Linked DNA regions of Homo sapiens: region 1 is linked to region 2. The links are contacts of gene promoters, found by promoter capture Hi-C in human tissues and cell types (Jung and others, 2019). All regions are on one chromosome and are shown on one strand. The core of a region is centred on a gene start or on the middle of the fragment in contact, and the rest is flanking DNA. Distances in the headings are between cores, read along the strand shown. Region 1 overlaps MATCAP2 (microtubule associated tyrosine carboxypeptidase 2). Region 2 holds the start of EEPD1 (endonuclease/exonuclease/phosphatase family domain containing 1).

What was found. Contacts are between HindIII fragments. The study calls those that stand out against the background at their distance.
Region 1: a fragment that was not itself captured here is called in contact with the fragment with the promoter of EEPD1 in region 2 in 1 of the 25 tissues and cell types used here (spleen).

The regions. Positions count from the first base shown.
Region 1 is chr7:36,355,193-36,362,362 of GRCh38, reverse strand. MATCAP2 (microtubule associated tyrosine carboxypeptidase 2) reads left to right here. Exons shown (of 7, transcript NM_001199706.2): 2 at 4,773-5,461. Among named protein-coding and RNA genes, the nearest start is that of MATCAP2, 8.5 kb to the left of the region's middle. RefSeq lists an enhancer at 1,539-2,256. The HindIII fragment of the contact is 3,813 bases long and covers 3,790-7,170 here.
Region 2 is chr7:36,149,413-36,155,736 of GRCh38, reverse strand. EEPD1 (endonuclease/exonuclease/phosphatase family domain containing 1) reads right to left here and starts at 2,483. Exons shown (of 8, transcript NM_030636.3): 1 at 2,063-2,483; 2 at 535-1,604. The coding sequence starts at 1,412. RefSeq lists a silencer at 2,352-3,071. The HindIII fragment of the contact is 14,356 bases long and covers 1-6,324 here.

The DNA of each region.
Region 1 (7,170 bases), core at 4,447-6,946, 200 kb before region 2:
GGGGCTGTGAAATTTTTAAGAATCCTAAAGTACAGTCAAGTTTCTGAATTCCTGAATGACATTAGCAGTGCCTTTCGTCTCATTTTCATACAGTCGATAAACTACATTGGTTGCTATTGAATTTAGAGATACTATAGTTAATAGATTATCTGTTATAGTGCAGACAAATTGAGCAATAAATATGTTTTTAAGGATACTGATTTTATACACCATTAAAAAAATTAAAGTGTAACTTAAATAAAGTCTACAAGTCTTAAATGTGCAGCCCAATGACTTTGTACATACATAACCATTGCCCAGAACAGATAGCGAACATTTCCAGCACCTGGTAGGTTTCCTGGTATCCTCCTAGATTGTGATTCATCCCTCAAAGGTAACTGCTATTCTGACGTCTAATACCATAAATTAGTTTTGCTGTTTTGGAGTACATATAAATGGAATTATACACTATAAAATCTTTTGATGTGGCTTCATTTGCTCAACATTGTCTGAGATACATCCATATTGTTGCTTACAACGTCAGTTTTCTTTTCATTGTCGTATAGTCTTCTGTTATATGAGCGTACCACAATTTATCCTTTCTACTGTTGATACTGTTTGAGGTGTTTTTGTTTGTTTGTTTGTTCATTTGTTTTTTAGAATTGGAGTTTTGCTATGTTGTCTAGGCTGGACTCAAACTCCTGGGTTCAAGTAGTCTTCCAGCCTCAGCTTCCTGAATAGCTGGGACTACAGGCATGTGCCACTGTGCCTAGCTTCTTTTGAGTTTTTAGTAATGAAAGTCTTGATAAAATTAAAGTTTATCTTGTTTGGGGATTATTTTGTTTTGTTTTGGCCTTTCTTTTGTTTGTAATGAAGTAACCTATTGTTTTGTGGTATAAAATTATCCCAGATTCTCAGGTTTCGTAAGTATTAGTGAACCATACGAAATTTCCATTTGTAGGTCAAAACTGGTTGAATAGTATTTGCCACCAGGCTTTGTTTCTGGTGATCTTCCTTTTCAGCCAGAGACCTCCTGATTACTATGAAACCTCACCTACTCACAGTTGTGAAACACTACTTTTAGAGAGCAGTGTCTCCCTTTTCCCCCATTCTTTTAGATGGGGAACGGGAGGTACCGATGGGTTTAATGATTAGGCTAATATTACAGAGAGGTCATTGAAAGAGCTGGGAATGGATGTCAGGAATCTTGGTATCCTTTTCTCCTGTTCTAGATATATACTAAGTTTTCATTGTGTTGATAACTTCAGTATATTCACCTACTTGCGAATAGACTATCAATTTTAATGTACAAATATTATTTACCCTTTTTTCCTCAGTATGGGTAATCAGGTTGGGGTGAACGATTTTCTTCTATCAACAAATTATTTTCATTCTCTCCAATATAGTGAAACAGATTGCTTATAGCTAAGTTTTACATTATATAATGACTACCTTTAATGTGAGAAAGTATGCTTTTTAATTACCTTATTACTTTTCTGGGAAAACACGAGTTACACTTCCTCCAAATAAGTCTGTTTATGCTTTTAAAATGTTTTAATTTTTCAGGAAAAAGGATTCAGAGAATAGGATGTTCTTTAATAAATTGTGTCAAATGTTATCGGCCTCTTAGTGTTCTTAACCATGTTCAAAAGTCTTTTTTTCACAAAGTAAGCAATAGTATTTAAAATTACAAAAACAATCTCTTAGGTTCTATGATACTTTTTAATGTAACTGAAATACAATTACTGTGACTCTGAGAAATTAATTTATATCCATCTTGTATGAGTTGCGTGAAGGACCATGTGCCCCACTTTTATGAACTTCATGGGCTATCCAGCATTTAACAGGATTGACATTTGTAAAATAAATAGACCATTAACACTCCCAAACTTTATTCAGCAGCAGATGGAGCTTCAAAAGGACTCGTGCTAAGCTTCTCAGGAGATAATTAGCAAGTGAACTGAAATGCTGTAATTCCTGGGGAGAGAGGTTCTGTCAGGCATATACTGTCACCCCGCTGCCATACTTCATTCCTCCTTGAGTATTTTGACAGGTGGTTTAGGACGTTTTTTTTTAGTATCTGGAAATGTGTAGGCTGTTTCAGATGGCACAAAATTATGAATTTGGAGGTCACTGATGCTTTACGACAAAAAACTCAGCAAGCTCAGTTCTTTGGTCGTAAAGCTACTAGGTCTTAGAAAACAGAGCATTTTCACATTGAGTATTCATTTTTAAAAAATCAGTACAACATATATGTAATGAATCATCAAAACAAATTCTTCAGAGTAGTCTTATTTATTGATTTTAATTTGGTGTAACTCTGTCCCTTTTTATTACGAAGATCAACTGAGAAAACAACCTGATTTCCTCCCTTTACGTTTCCGGCTACACCTAGTCCTTACCCTACTTCCTAGGCTTATGCTTATTTGAGTTCTTTCAGTCTTTCCCTTTTTGTATCTATTTCGGTTTTCTTTTCATTATCACCTCTTGTCTCCTAAGCTTGTGGTGTCGTTTGAGGGAAACCGACATTATTCCTGGGCATTTGGGCTACAGCCTGTGTCCTGGTATTCCTTAGCCTGTTTGCTTGGCCTGCTCAGTTTTGACTGTTAGTTGGCAACACGTAAGTCTATGAAACTCCTGAGAAACTGGGAGCTACCAGCCTATGATGAACGTTTTGTTTATTTGTCCAGTTAATTTTGTCTTGTTGAGTCTTTAACATTTATTGAACAGCTTCTTTGTACAACCTGTCTTCAACATGACCCTATGTGATCTAGCTCCTATCTCTAAACTTACACATATAATAGACATTTAGCCCCTGCAAGCTTTAGAAATACCTTTATGTTATCTTTTAGACACCAAAATTCAGATTTCACATGCTGGCCTAGAAAATGTAAGTAAAAGGACTTTTAAATACCTTACATATTTGGATTATTATCTACTTTAGTACTGTCTCTTTACCCTAGACTCTGTGACTCCTGGGTTTTAAAAACTAACATTTAGATAAGAGTTTCTCTACCTTGATACTGTTGACATTTTGGAATGAATCTTTCTTTGTTGTGGGAGATTGTCCTATGCAGTGAAGGATGTTTAGCAGCATCCCTGGCCTTTACCTGCTAGATGTCAATACCCTCTCCCCAGTTGTGACAACCAAAATGTCTCTAGACATTGCCAAATGTTCCCTGGAGGGTAAAATTGCCTTCTGTTAAGAACTACTGGTTTAGGGTCTTTCCTGTTATATTTTCAGGTCTGCAGTTATCTCATATTTGAATGGTCCCAGAACTACAAGTACATATTTATTCAGAATGGTTGCAGAATTGCATGTTTAGGGTCATTTATTTATTCATTTGTTTATTCAGTGAACACTTATTGACAGGAGTTGAGCTGGAGTCTTGTTCAGATGAGATGTATTTAAGACAAACTCTTCATCAGTTTAGAATTGAATCTGAAAACCCTTAAGGGCCTACTTGAAATCTCATCTGTTTCTCTTCATATTGCTTCCTTCCTCATCTGAACTGTAGGTTATTGTTTGTGTCTTTTGTTTTTCATGTTTAATTATATACTACATTGTATTATTGTTGAAATCTTCATAGGAATGCCTTGTCTTCAGAGCCAGATTAGAAGCTGGTTATAGGTAAGAACAATGTGTTTATACAGTTGTTTATCAGAGCCATGTGCTGAATTAGTAGCATTCTACGTATTTGTTGAATGAAAGAATGCAGATCAACACAGTTTTAAAGTAGTGAATGCACAACAGTATATCCAGTGATTCTTATCTGTTTAAAGCACTTGTGAGTTCTAAAAACAAAGCTGCCCTCTCCTTCACTTGCCATTTGATATATTAATACCTTTGTAATAGTTATTAAAATTTGTTTTTCTAACTTGCCAAGAAAAAACCCTTGTTTTTCTTTAACCTTAACGTACAGCTTAGAATTATGAAGAAAATCAACCAGTTATTCATACTAAGCGACATTACTAAAACATGCTTGAAGATGCCATCTGTTTAATCTTAACAATGGTTTTTGAGTAAATAAGGCTTTGTTGTCCTTTTACTGATAGCTACCTTTATATATATTTCCAAATTTCAAGATTGTATTGTCTTTGAAAGTGCCTTGGATTTTACTTTATTATAGAAAATACTATTTTAAAATATATCATTTCTATGAAATCCACATTCTTTTTTTTTTTTAAGATAGGGTCTCACTCTGTCACCCAGGCTGGAGTGCAGTGGTGCGATCTCAGCTCACAGCAACCTCTGCCTCCCGGATTCAGGCAATTCTCATGCCTCAGCCTCCTGAGTAGCTGGGATTACAGGGGCGCACCACTATACCTGGCTAATTTTTGTATTTTTTGGTAGAGACAGGGTTTCACCATGTTGGCCAGGCTGGTCTCCAGCTCCTGCTCAAGTGATCTGCCTGCCTCGACCTCCCAAAATGCTGGGATTACAGGTGTGAGCCACTGCGCCCAGCCAAAATCTACATTCTTTTGTAGAATCAAGTATTCAGATTATTTATGTATATTATCTCACATATTAGACTTTGATCATCTAAGTGGTTTGAAGCTGAGGATTTTTTAGATAATTTAACTTATATATACTCATAGAGAAGAGAAATGACAGTAGCTAGCGTGACCAAAGTTTAGTAATATATCCTTTTAATATTTAAAATGTTTTTTTCTAATGATTACTGCAAAATTACGAAGTTTATAGAATCTTCAGAATACCTTTCCTAATAAACAGTTTGCTTCATCTGGTATCTTTGTTATTTCTTTTGTTTTGATTTTGTTTATTAACACAGAAAAGCTTCACTGGCCTGAGCAAGAACTTGCTAAGAAGTCTATTCTAAATGCAGAAGATTCATTGATCATTGACAACAAAAGAAGCATTTCACATTTGTCCTCGGGAGTGCTAAAAGACATTTTCACAACTGGAACCAGTAGTTACAATGTCCTACTACAGAGCAAGGAGGAAAAAAAGTATCATTCACAAAAACAGTCTTCCTCCACCTACTCCAAAAGATGTAGAAAACCCAGCAAATCTCCTAACACTTCTCGTAGCAAAGATCCTCGCAGGATGAAAGCCCTGGTGCCTGTGACAAGCAGTGGTACTTGGTACTGCCTGGAGAGGCGGCCTGCTGTTTTTGTCACTAGTTCAGTGTCAAGTCCTGTAAAGTTTACACATGATATCTCTGTTACAGGGAATGGCATAGTACTGCCACCTAAACCCAAAAGCAAGGTCAAGTGGTGCCATTTCTCCACTCTTCCAAAGCCAAAGCCTCAGCTGTCTAGAAGCTTTGAAAAGGGAGATGACTTTTCTGGGAAGAAATTTTGTATATTGACTGCTATAAAACCCACCAACTTAGAGAAAGAAAAACTGAGATTCTTCAAATCTGACTATACCTACAATCCTCAGTTTGAGTATGCCAATCCTGCTCTGCCAAGCGTATTAGCTAAGCATAGCCACGCATCTGACCGATTTCTTAAGCAGGTAAAATGCCATTTCAATAGTGGTAGTTCATTTTTATGTACTAAAACAATTATCTGTGATCTTATAAGCAAAAACAAAGACATTTAAAAATATTCAAATTATTTCTATGTTATGGTTAATTCCCACTCAGGACATGTAAATGTGCGACAAGACGAGTATTACCTGTATATAAACTCCATTGCATTCATCAAAATTTATAATCTGTTATATAGGCTCTTTGTGACAGGAAGCAATTATATTAGGAAGACAGCTTCAGATTCTGGTTCTAAGCTTTCATGTGGGAGTTACAAACTTGTGGCCAATTTAGCCGCCTACAGACAAGTGTTGGGTAGCCCACACTACGTTTTTGTTTTCTAATTGATTTCTTTGTTGTTTTTTGTTTTTTTCTGAGACAGATTCTTGCTCTTTGCCCAGGTTGGAGTGTAGTGGCACGATCTTGGCTCACTGCAACCTCTGCCTTCTGGGTTCAAGTGATTCTTGTGTCTCAGCCTCCCGAGTAGCTGGGACTACAGGCACCCGCCACCATACCCAGCTAATTTTTGTAATTTTAGTGAAGATGGGGTTTCACCATTTTGGCCAGGCTGGTCTTGAACTCCTGATCTCCAGTGATTTGCCCGCCTTGGCCTCCCAAAGTGTTGAGGTTGCAGGTGTGAGCCACCATGCCTGGCCTCTAATTGATTTTTTAATGTCTTAGATGGAGCATGCAATCCCTGGTTCTTCCTATTGTGTTAAATTCCTGGCTTGCTTAGGCTCCGGTAAGTAGTTTGGGAACCGAAGCTTGATTCTTGTCCATGAACTTGTTAATGCTTCACTGAAATTGTTAATCATCATCAAATAAATATTTAAGCACTTATTCAAAGATAAAAATAATGGGATTTTCAAAATTATCTTCAAGTTTAGCAAATTATGATGTGAACGTTATGAATAATACTTTTAAATTGCTCACTTTAAGCCCTTAGCAGTTTTGTGTTTTACAGGGCTATAATACATTTCAGAACCTCATTTAAGCATTTGAGAAGAAATTAGCTAATGTTTATCTGCAGGGCATAGTTTTGAGATCATAAAGGCCGACAATATTTGGTCAAATTAACTTTGTTCAGGTTTTTATAATATATTAGCTTCAACTTGGCATTGTCAGTGACTGAAAATCTGTTTGTAGGATAGGTAAAACTGCATGGTTCTCTCGCCTGTGGTGCATGTCCTATTTTAGCATTTTTGCTGATAATAGTTATTTGGTCTTGCGGCCAGCAGATATTTTGCTGTTTATTATAGATAACATGGAATCTGGCCAGTCTTTTGAAGCCATTATGTAAAACTTAATTATGTAAAGCCATTATGTAAAGATTAAAATAATTTTAATCATGGTATTTACTTTCCTTTGTTAGGGTCTCTTTGCTTCTGCTTCTGTATTCTTTAATGGGTATTTGCTTTTTAAAAAATGTGCTGAGATTGTGCTAAAAATTGTGATTCAAATTGATAACTTACTAATATAAAGTGGCACTTCTGGATGGGAGAAGGCAGCATTAACATAGTGATTACATAATCCACTCTTAGGCTGTACTACTTCCACATTGTAAAATGGAGTAAAGAAAATACCTACTTTAGGAGATTATTTTGATAATTAAATGAGAGAATGCTTAGTGCATATATTGCAGTTATCATCGTGCTTGGCACCTACAAAGCACTAATAAAGAGGTTAGCTGTTATTT
Region 2 (6,324 bases), core at 1,234-3,733:
CAGGTTAAATAAGGAAAAAGAATGGAGAGTGATTCATTCATAGCATTTTGGTAAATATAGACACTTGTATGTGTTTGCAAATACTTGGCCTTTAAGATGATTTTGTGTGCACAAATAGGCATATTTGATGGAACAAATATGATTTTCCCTCCCATTAATAAACAAAATCCAATGAGCTCTTTCTCACATGCGAAACTGCACCAGTTCCCATGCTCTGAGTGCCTGACTTGGTGTAGACCCAGCATCCTCCAAAGCAGTAACAAAAACACAACCTCTGCTTACCCCAAAATTATGAATCAGTCTCAGATATCTCACACTCAAGACATGGGTCACAAGCCCAGCTGTATTCAGAAAATTCTGGAGCAGAAGGACAGCCCATTCTCAGGTGACGGTATTGGCTGAGGCTTCAAGAACATTGATTAAAAACTCTTGCACCCTCCCTACCCGCAAAAGAATCCATTCATTTGCATCCATAGATGAGGTCACGCACAAGTTGCCTTCACACCCAACACCCATGGTGGTTCCTGTCCTCACCTGTTTTCCAGGAGTGTCATGCACACCACCTCTCGCACCCCGGGGTTGTTGGCCTTCTCCACGGAACAGCCCTGCAAGTTCCAGGTGGCCAGCCTCAGCACAGGCCTCCCATCCCTTGTGCCTCCAAAGGCCTCCACGGACGGCCGAGTGGAGATAATCTGGGTGGGCCCCCCTGGCGGCAGGTCCAGGTCCTCACTCTGCAGGCTCAGGGAAGTGGGGCTCGGGTGAGGCTTGGCGGTGAAGGTCAGTCCCCCGTTCGTGTGGGTGGATGGGGGCCTGGACCTCTCAGCAAACACCTGGTGCCGGATCCTGTCCAGGAAGGCGGCATTGATACCATCCATCCTCACTAGGTCCTCAACGCTGCGAAAGGGCCCATGCTCACGGCGGAAGTCCACGATGCTGAGGGCCATTTTCTCCGAGAGGCCTCGCACGCTCATGAGCTGGGCCGGGGTGGCTGTGTTGATGTTAACACGTGGGGTGAGGGGCACAGCTGTGGCCAGGTGGTGAGGCTGCTGCTCCGCTAGCAGGTCCCGCCGCAGGGAACTGGGAGAGTGCTGCGCTGAGCTGCCCTTGCTGCTCACACAGATCTCAAACTTGACCTGCTCCAGCTTGGTGGCGCCTACACCACTGACCAATGCCAGGTCCTCCACCTTCTTGAAGCCACCGATATACTCTCGGTACTCCACGATGCTGCGTGCCACGGCACGCGTCACCCCAGGCAGGGTCATCAGCTCCTCCTCCGTGGCAGTGTTGATGTTGAGCCGCTCCTGATTCACTAGAATGTTGCTGAAGTTACAGGCTGCGCTGAACTTGCGGCTATGGGACAGGTCCGAGGGGTCCCTGGGGATGGAGCGGTGGCAGCCCAGGGTGCTCCCCATGGTCCGCCAGGATCAGGCTCCCGGGAAGGCCGCACCACTGCAGAAGAGCTCTCTGGCTAGGGAGGAAGCCCAGTAGGCCGTACAAGCACAGAAAAACGGAAGGTGCAGGATTCAGGGACTGAAGAGGTTACTATAGACAAACACCGAATCTTCCATGCCTGGCGTGTCCAAAATTACCTTTCACTTGGCCGCCTAGAAAATAAATCAATAAACATAGAAACCCATTGAATTAAGAAATTTGCATTAGCACCCCCTACCTAGTGCTAGAGTTAGTAACCAGGAGTCGGGGACTGGTGGCTGCCCGTGAACCCCTAAAAACGCAGGCACAATGAGGCTAGGCCCATGTGGATTCTCCTCTAGGGACGTCCGGGTTTTATCACACTGGAGTCCAAAAAGGCTACGAGCCGCTTCTCTTGGGAAGAGACCTATCCCCATCAGCCTCATGCCTCTCCTCCAGGCCTCTCTCAACTCTGACACTTGGGTCACCCACACTTGGGCTCGCGCAGACGGGGTGGCCACTCCACCTCCCCCACGCTCCGCATCTGACACAGCGCTACCTGCAACCTGGGAAGTCCGTGCTCCCCGGAGCGGGCACTGAGAAGGGGCTTATCGACCCCCCACCCGACCTGCCGCGGGTCCCCGCGCCCCACCTCTCGGCCGCTCTGCGGGGCGCCGGTTCCTCTTCCACCTGCGGCTCGGAAGCCTGAGCCCAGCCCGGGACAGCACGGGCCCCCTGCCTCCAGCCTAGGCGTCCGCGCGGGTGTGGGTCACTGGTCAGGCCCTGGAAGCCGACTACGCCGCTTCGGTCTGCGTGTCCCGGCTCTTTCTATGGGAGAAACTTAGCATCGCTCTCCCAGAGTGAATAGAAGCCGCAGGGCTGCTCGGAGGCGGCGGCAGCGGCGGCGAAACCCGCCGCCGAGGCTGCACCGGGGCTTGCGGCGGCGCCGCCGCAGTTGCGTTTACCCCGGCAAAAAGTCCTGCGCCCAACTCGGGCGGGGATCCGCCAGAGCCAGTCCAGACCCAGCACCAGCCGCACGGCTCCCGCTCGCAGTCGGTGTCAAAGCCAAAGTCCCGGCCGCGCCGCGCCGCGCCGCTCGCGCCTCCGCAGGCACCGCGGCCACGCCTCCTCCGCGCGGCAACTCCTCCCCGGGACTCCCGAGGGCACGTGGGGGAGGGGCCCTGGCGCGGGGCGAGGCCTGGCACCAGTGGGTGGAGAGAGGAACCCGAGAGCGCAAGGGCGGGCCTGGAGTGGGAGAGGCGGGGCCATGGAAGAGGGGGCGGCATCAAGGCTCAAGAGGGTGGAGAACGAACCAGAGAGCGCGAGGGGAGGCCCTGGCGTGCGAGAGGAGGAGCCATGGGTGTGGGGGCGTGGCCTGGCACAAATGGGTGGAGAGCAGAACCCTGGAGCGCGTGGGGCGGGCCTGGAGTGCGAGAGGCGGGGTCATAGAGTGTGGGAGCGGGGCCAGGGCGCGATGGGGTAGGAAAAGCGGGGGCGGGGCCATGAGCGCGGGGGTAGGCCCCGGGAGCGCAGAGGCGGGACTTAGGGGGCTTAAGGGGCGGAGCCGGCGCCGTGCCGGCGAGGGCGGGTCACAGGGAGGCTGTCCTAAGTCAGCTGCCCCCGGACCATGGTTGCCGCCCGGGGCCTAGGACTGGTTGTGCCTGGTAGAGGCTGTTTAGGATTGCCCGAGGCGAGATCTGCTCAGCTGCTTTTCGTCTGTCTTTGAGGTGTGGGGATGAAGGCCGGGGCAGTCCCTGAGAGTGCATCGCTGTAGGTCCAGGGTCTCACGGAATTTTGCAGAACGTTCCAGAGGAGACTGAATGGGATCGTCTTAATTTCTGTCCCCACTTTCGGCCTTTTCTTTTCTTCCACCAGTGTATTACCTTTGCTCCGCTCAGAGAGATGTCCTCTAATAACGCCAGCGACGCATTGTGCTCCTAGCAGAGGGCACGCACCACCCTCCTGTGTGTTCGCATAGGTCAAATACAGGTTTGCTCCTTTGCACATTTAGCGCTGTGAGTAAACAAGGATAAGTTTTTGTAATATTAAGTCTAATCATTACGAAGGAGGGAAATGGGGGCTGCTTCCCAAAACCCAGAAGAGTTTTTGCATCACACTGCTAAATGACAATTTGGTTAAAGATTAAAGAGCCCTCTGCATTATAGTGGATACCTAGAGCTAGAGTATTCGATTAAGCAAATCATGCGGTGATATCGTTGAATACTTTGACCCTGGACGTTTAGTGTTCTCTGAAGTTTCATCCCCAACCAATGTGACCAGTGCATCTGGTTTCAATTCCAAGGACTGGGTCAGCAAAAATAGTACCTCTCACAGGCGGAAGGTACTTTGGTTGTAAAATTAGCGGCAGCCCAAGTTTGGAAAATGCTACTGCCTTTCTGAGGCACATTCCCCTGCTATGTATATTGGTCAGAAAACCAAGTCAAACTAGCTTAGACCAAAAAAAAAAAAAAAAAGGTCGGGGGGAAATTTTTGGTTCCTTGTTGAAAAGTTAAGGTAAGGAATCTTACCTCAAGTCTGGTTGCATCCGACCCAAGTGATGATGGGGTCATTAGGACATGGCAGGACTGCCTCCATCTCTGGCTCCACGGTTCTCTTTATTGGCTTTATTTTTAGGCAAGCTATTTGCACTTGATCGCAAAAATGCCTTGCTACCTACCATCATCTCCCACCCAAACACTGGGCTACATTATGCCACGCACTGAAATCCTGGTGCGGTAAGGAAAAAACAGTTTAAGACAAGCAGGAAAACAGAGAAAACTCTTCGTTGAGCAGAATGCCTTGATGCGCAACGTGGCTGTGGAAGCACAGCCGTGGAGCGTGGCTACTTGGGCTGGAAGCAGAGAAAACATATTTTATCATACAAACCAGGACACTCTGGAGGTGAAGAGAGGACTCTATTAATAATATCCTAGAACAACAGAAATAATCTGGTTTTATTCCCCATAAACCTAGCAAATGCTCCCCTTGGTATAAATGAAACCAAGCGTTGGCCAAACCAAAGTGCATTTAAAAACACACATACATACACCCCACAAAAACATGCAATGAGATGGTTAACTTTAAAACGACTGATTGTATCCAATGTTGGTGAGGACGCAGAGCAATTGAAATGGTCATACATTGCTGGTGGAGGTGTAAGATGGCACCACTACTTTGGAAATCAGTTTGGAAGTTTCCTAAGAAGTTAAACGTATACTTACCATATGACTCAACCAATCTACTTATAGGTATTTACCAAAGAAAAAGGAAAACATGAAACCCAGAGACTTGAATGTGGATGTTCATAGGAGCTTTGTTTGTTATAGCCAAACACACACACACACACACACCCACACACACACACACACACACACACACACACAAAGCAAAACAACAAGAAACTCAAATCCATCAGTGGATGAATGAATAAATTGTAGTATATCCATACAATGGAATGCTACTGAGCAATAAAGACAAACTATTACATGACATTGAAAAGTCTCAAAATCGTTATACTGAGTGAAAGAAGCAAGGCAAAAAAGAACATACTGTATGATTCTATTTATATAAAACACCAGAAAATACAAACTGACATACATATAGAGAAAGCAGATCAGTGGTTACCTGGGGATGATGGGGAGGGAGGAATGGATTTTAAAGGGCACAAAGAAACTTTGGGGGCTGATGGCAATGTAGTTTGAGAGGTGATAGTTTCATGGGCATATGAATGTCAAAACTGACAGAATCGTATACTTTAAATATGTGCATTTGGGTGTACTTCAGTGACAACAGCTTTGGAAAAATCTTCAAAAAATGAAAAAAAATTTTCTCTGAATCTAAAAAAACATAGGCCTTGTTTTTGGGGAGAGTGGGGTACGTGAGCCTGGGTGGAGATGAAAAGGTTTAGGAGGGGGATGAAGGGGTCCAAGAAGTTGAACAGACAGCTAATAGAAGAGAACATTCCCCAGCTTGGCTTGGGGGCTCAGGAAAGTGGGCGACAGAGGCCTTTAAACTTACGGCTAACAGTCTATTTTATCTGCTGTGCTATTTCATGATGCAATCCTCCCACCCCTACCCCATGCACAGACACTAAATTTTGTAAGATATGTATGTAATGGCCATCAATAAGTTATGTTTAGGAGAGATAAAGTAAGGGAGCTGAATCTTTCTGGGTAAATTAAAGACAGAGAGAAAAAGGGCAGCTAAAATATGAAAGATGGGTGGGAGAAAGAGCCAGGATTCAGTGGAAGCAGAAAATCAGAATACGAGGAGACCCAGGGAAATACCTGACTTTCAAGAATCCTCATTGAGATTGGGAAGTTGGCTCGGGTCCCATTTTACAAGGAATGAGGGTTTTATTTGCATTTTATTATTTAGGGCTCTAGCTGACAACCCAGTTACATGACGATGTCAAAGGGCAGAAATTATATCATTCCAGCCAAATACCACATCCTGTGGCCACTGCCCCTTACGACATAGTTCTCACCTGGGGCCTGGTCAGAGAGGACCAAGGTCATTGGCCTTTTGCTTCTTAGTTAGCAGTTTTAAAGTAAATGGCGATTTAGGGAAAGGGAGAGGTGGCAGATGACAAGAAGGGAGAGCATTTGTGTTTTCAGTTTTACCACCCATAGTGCTAGGCACTGGAAGTACAGTGAGGAGCACACTCCTGACTTCTATTCCCGGAGCTGATGGTGCAGCAGGACTGCAGACATGAAATCAGTAAGACTAGTGCCTGTTGAAATAAGGGAGAGGAAGAGAATATGGATGTGAATTACAAGTAATTTCTGCTAGGGGACTTCCCGGGAAGTGAGGGTCAAGATGAGATTTGAAAGCTGAATAGGGAAATGTTGCCCCAACACACAAGACCTCAGTCCTGGCAAAGCAAGCCCCAATGCCCCAATCAATGAGCTTCAG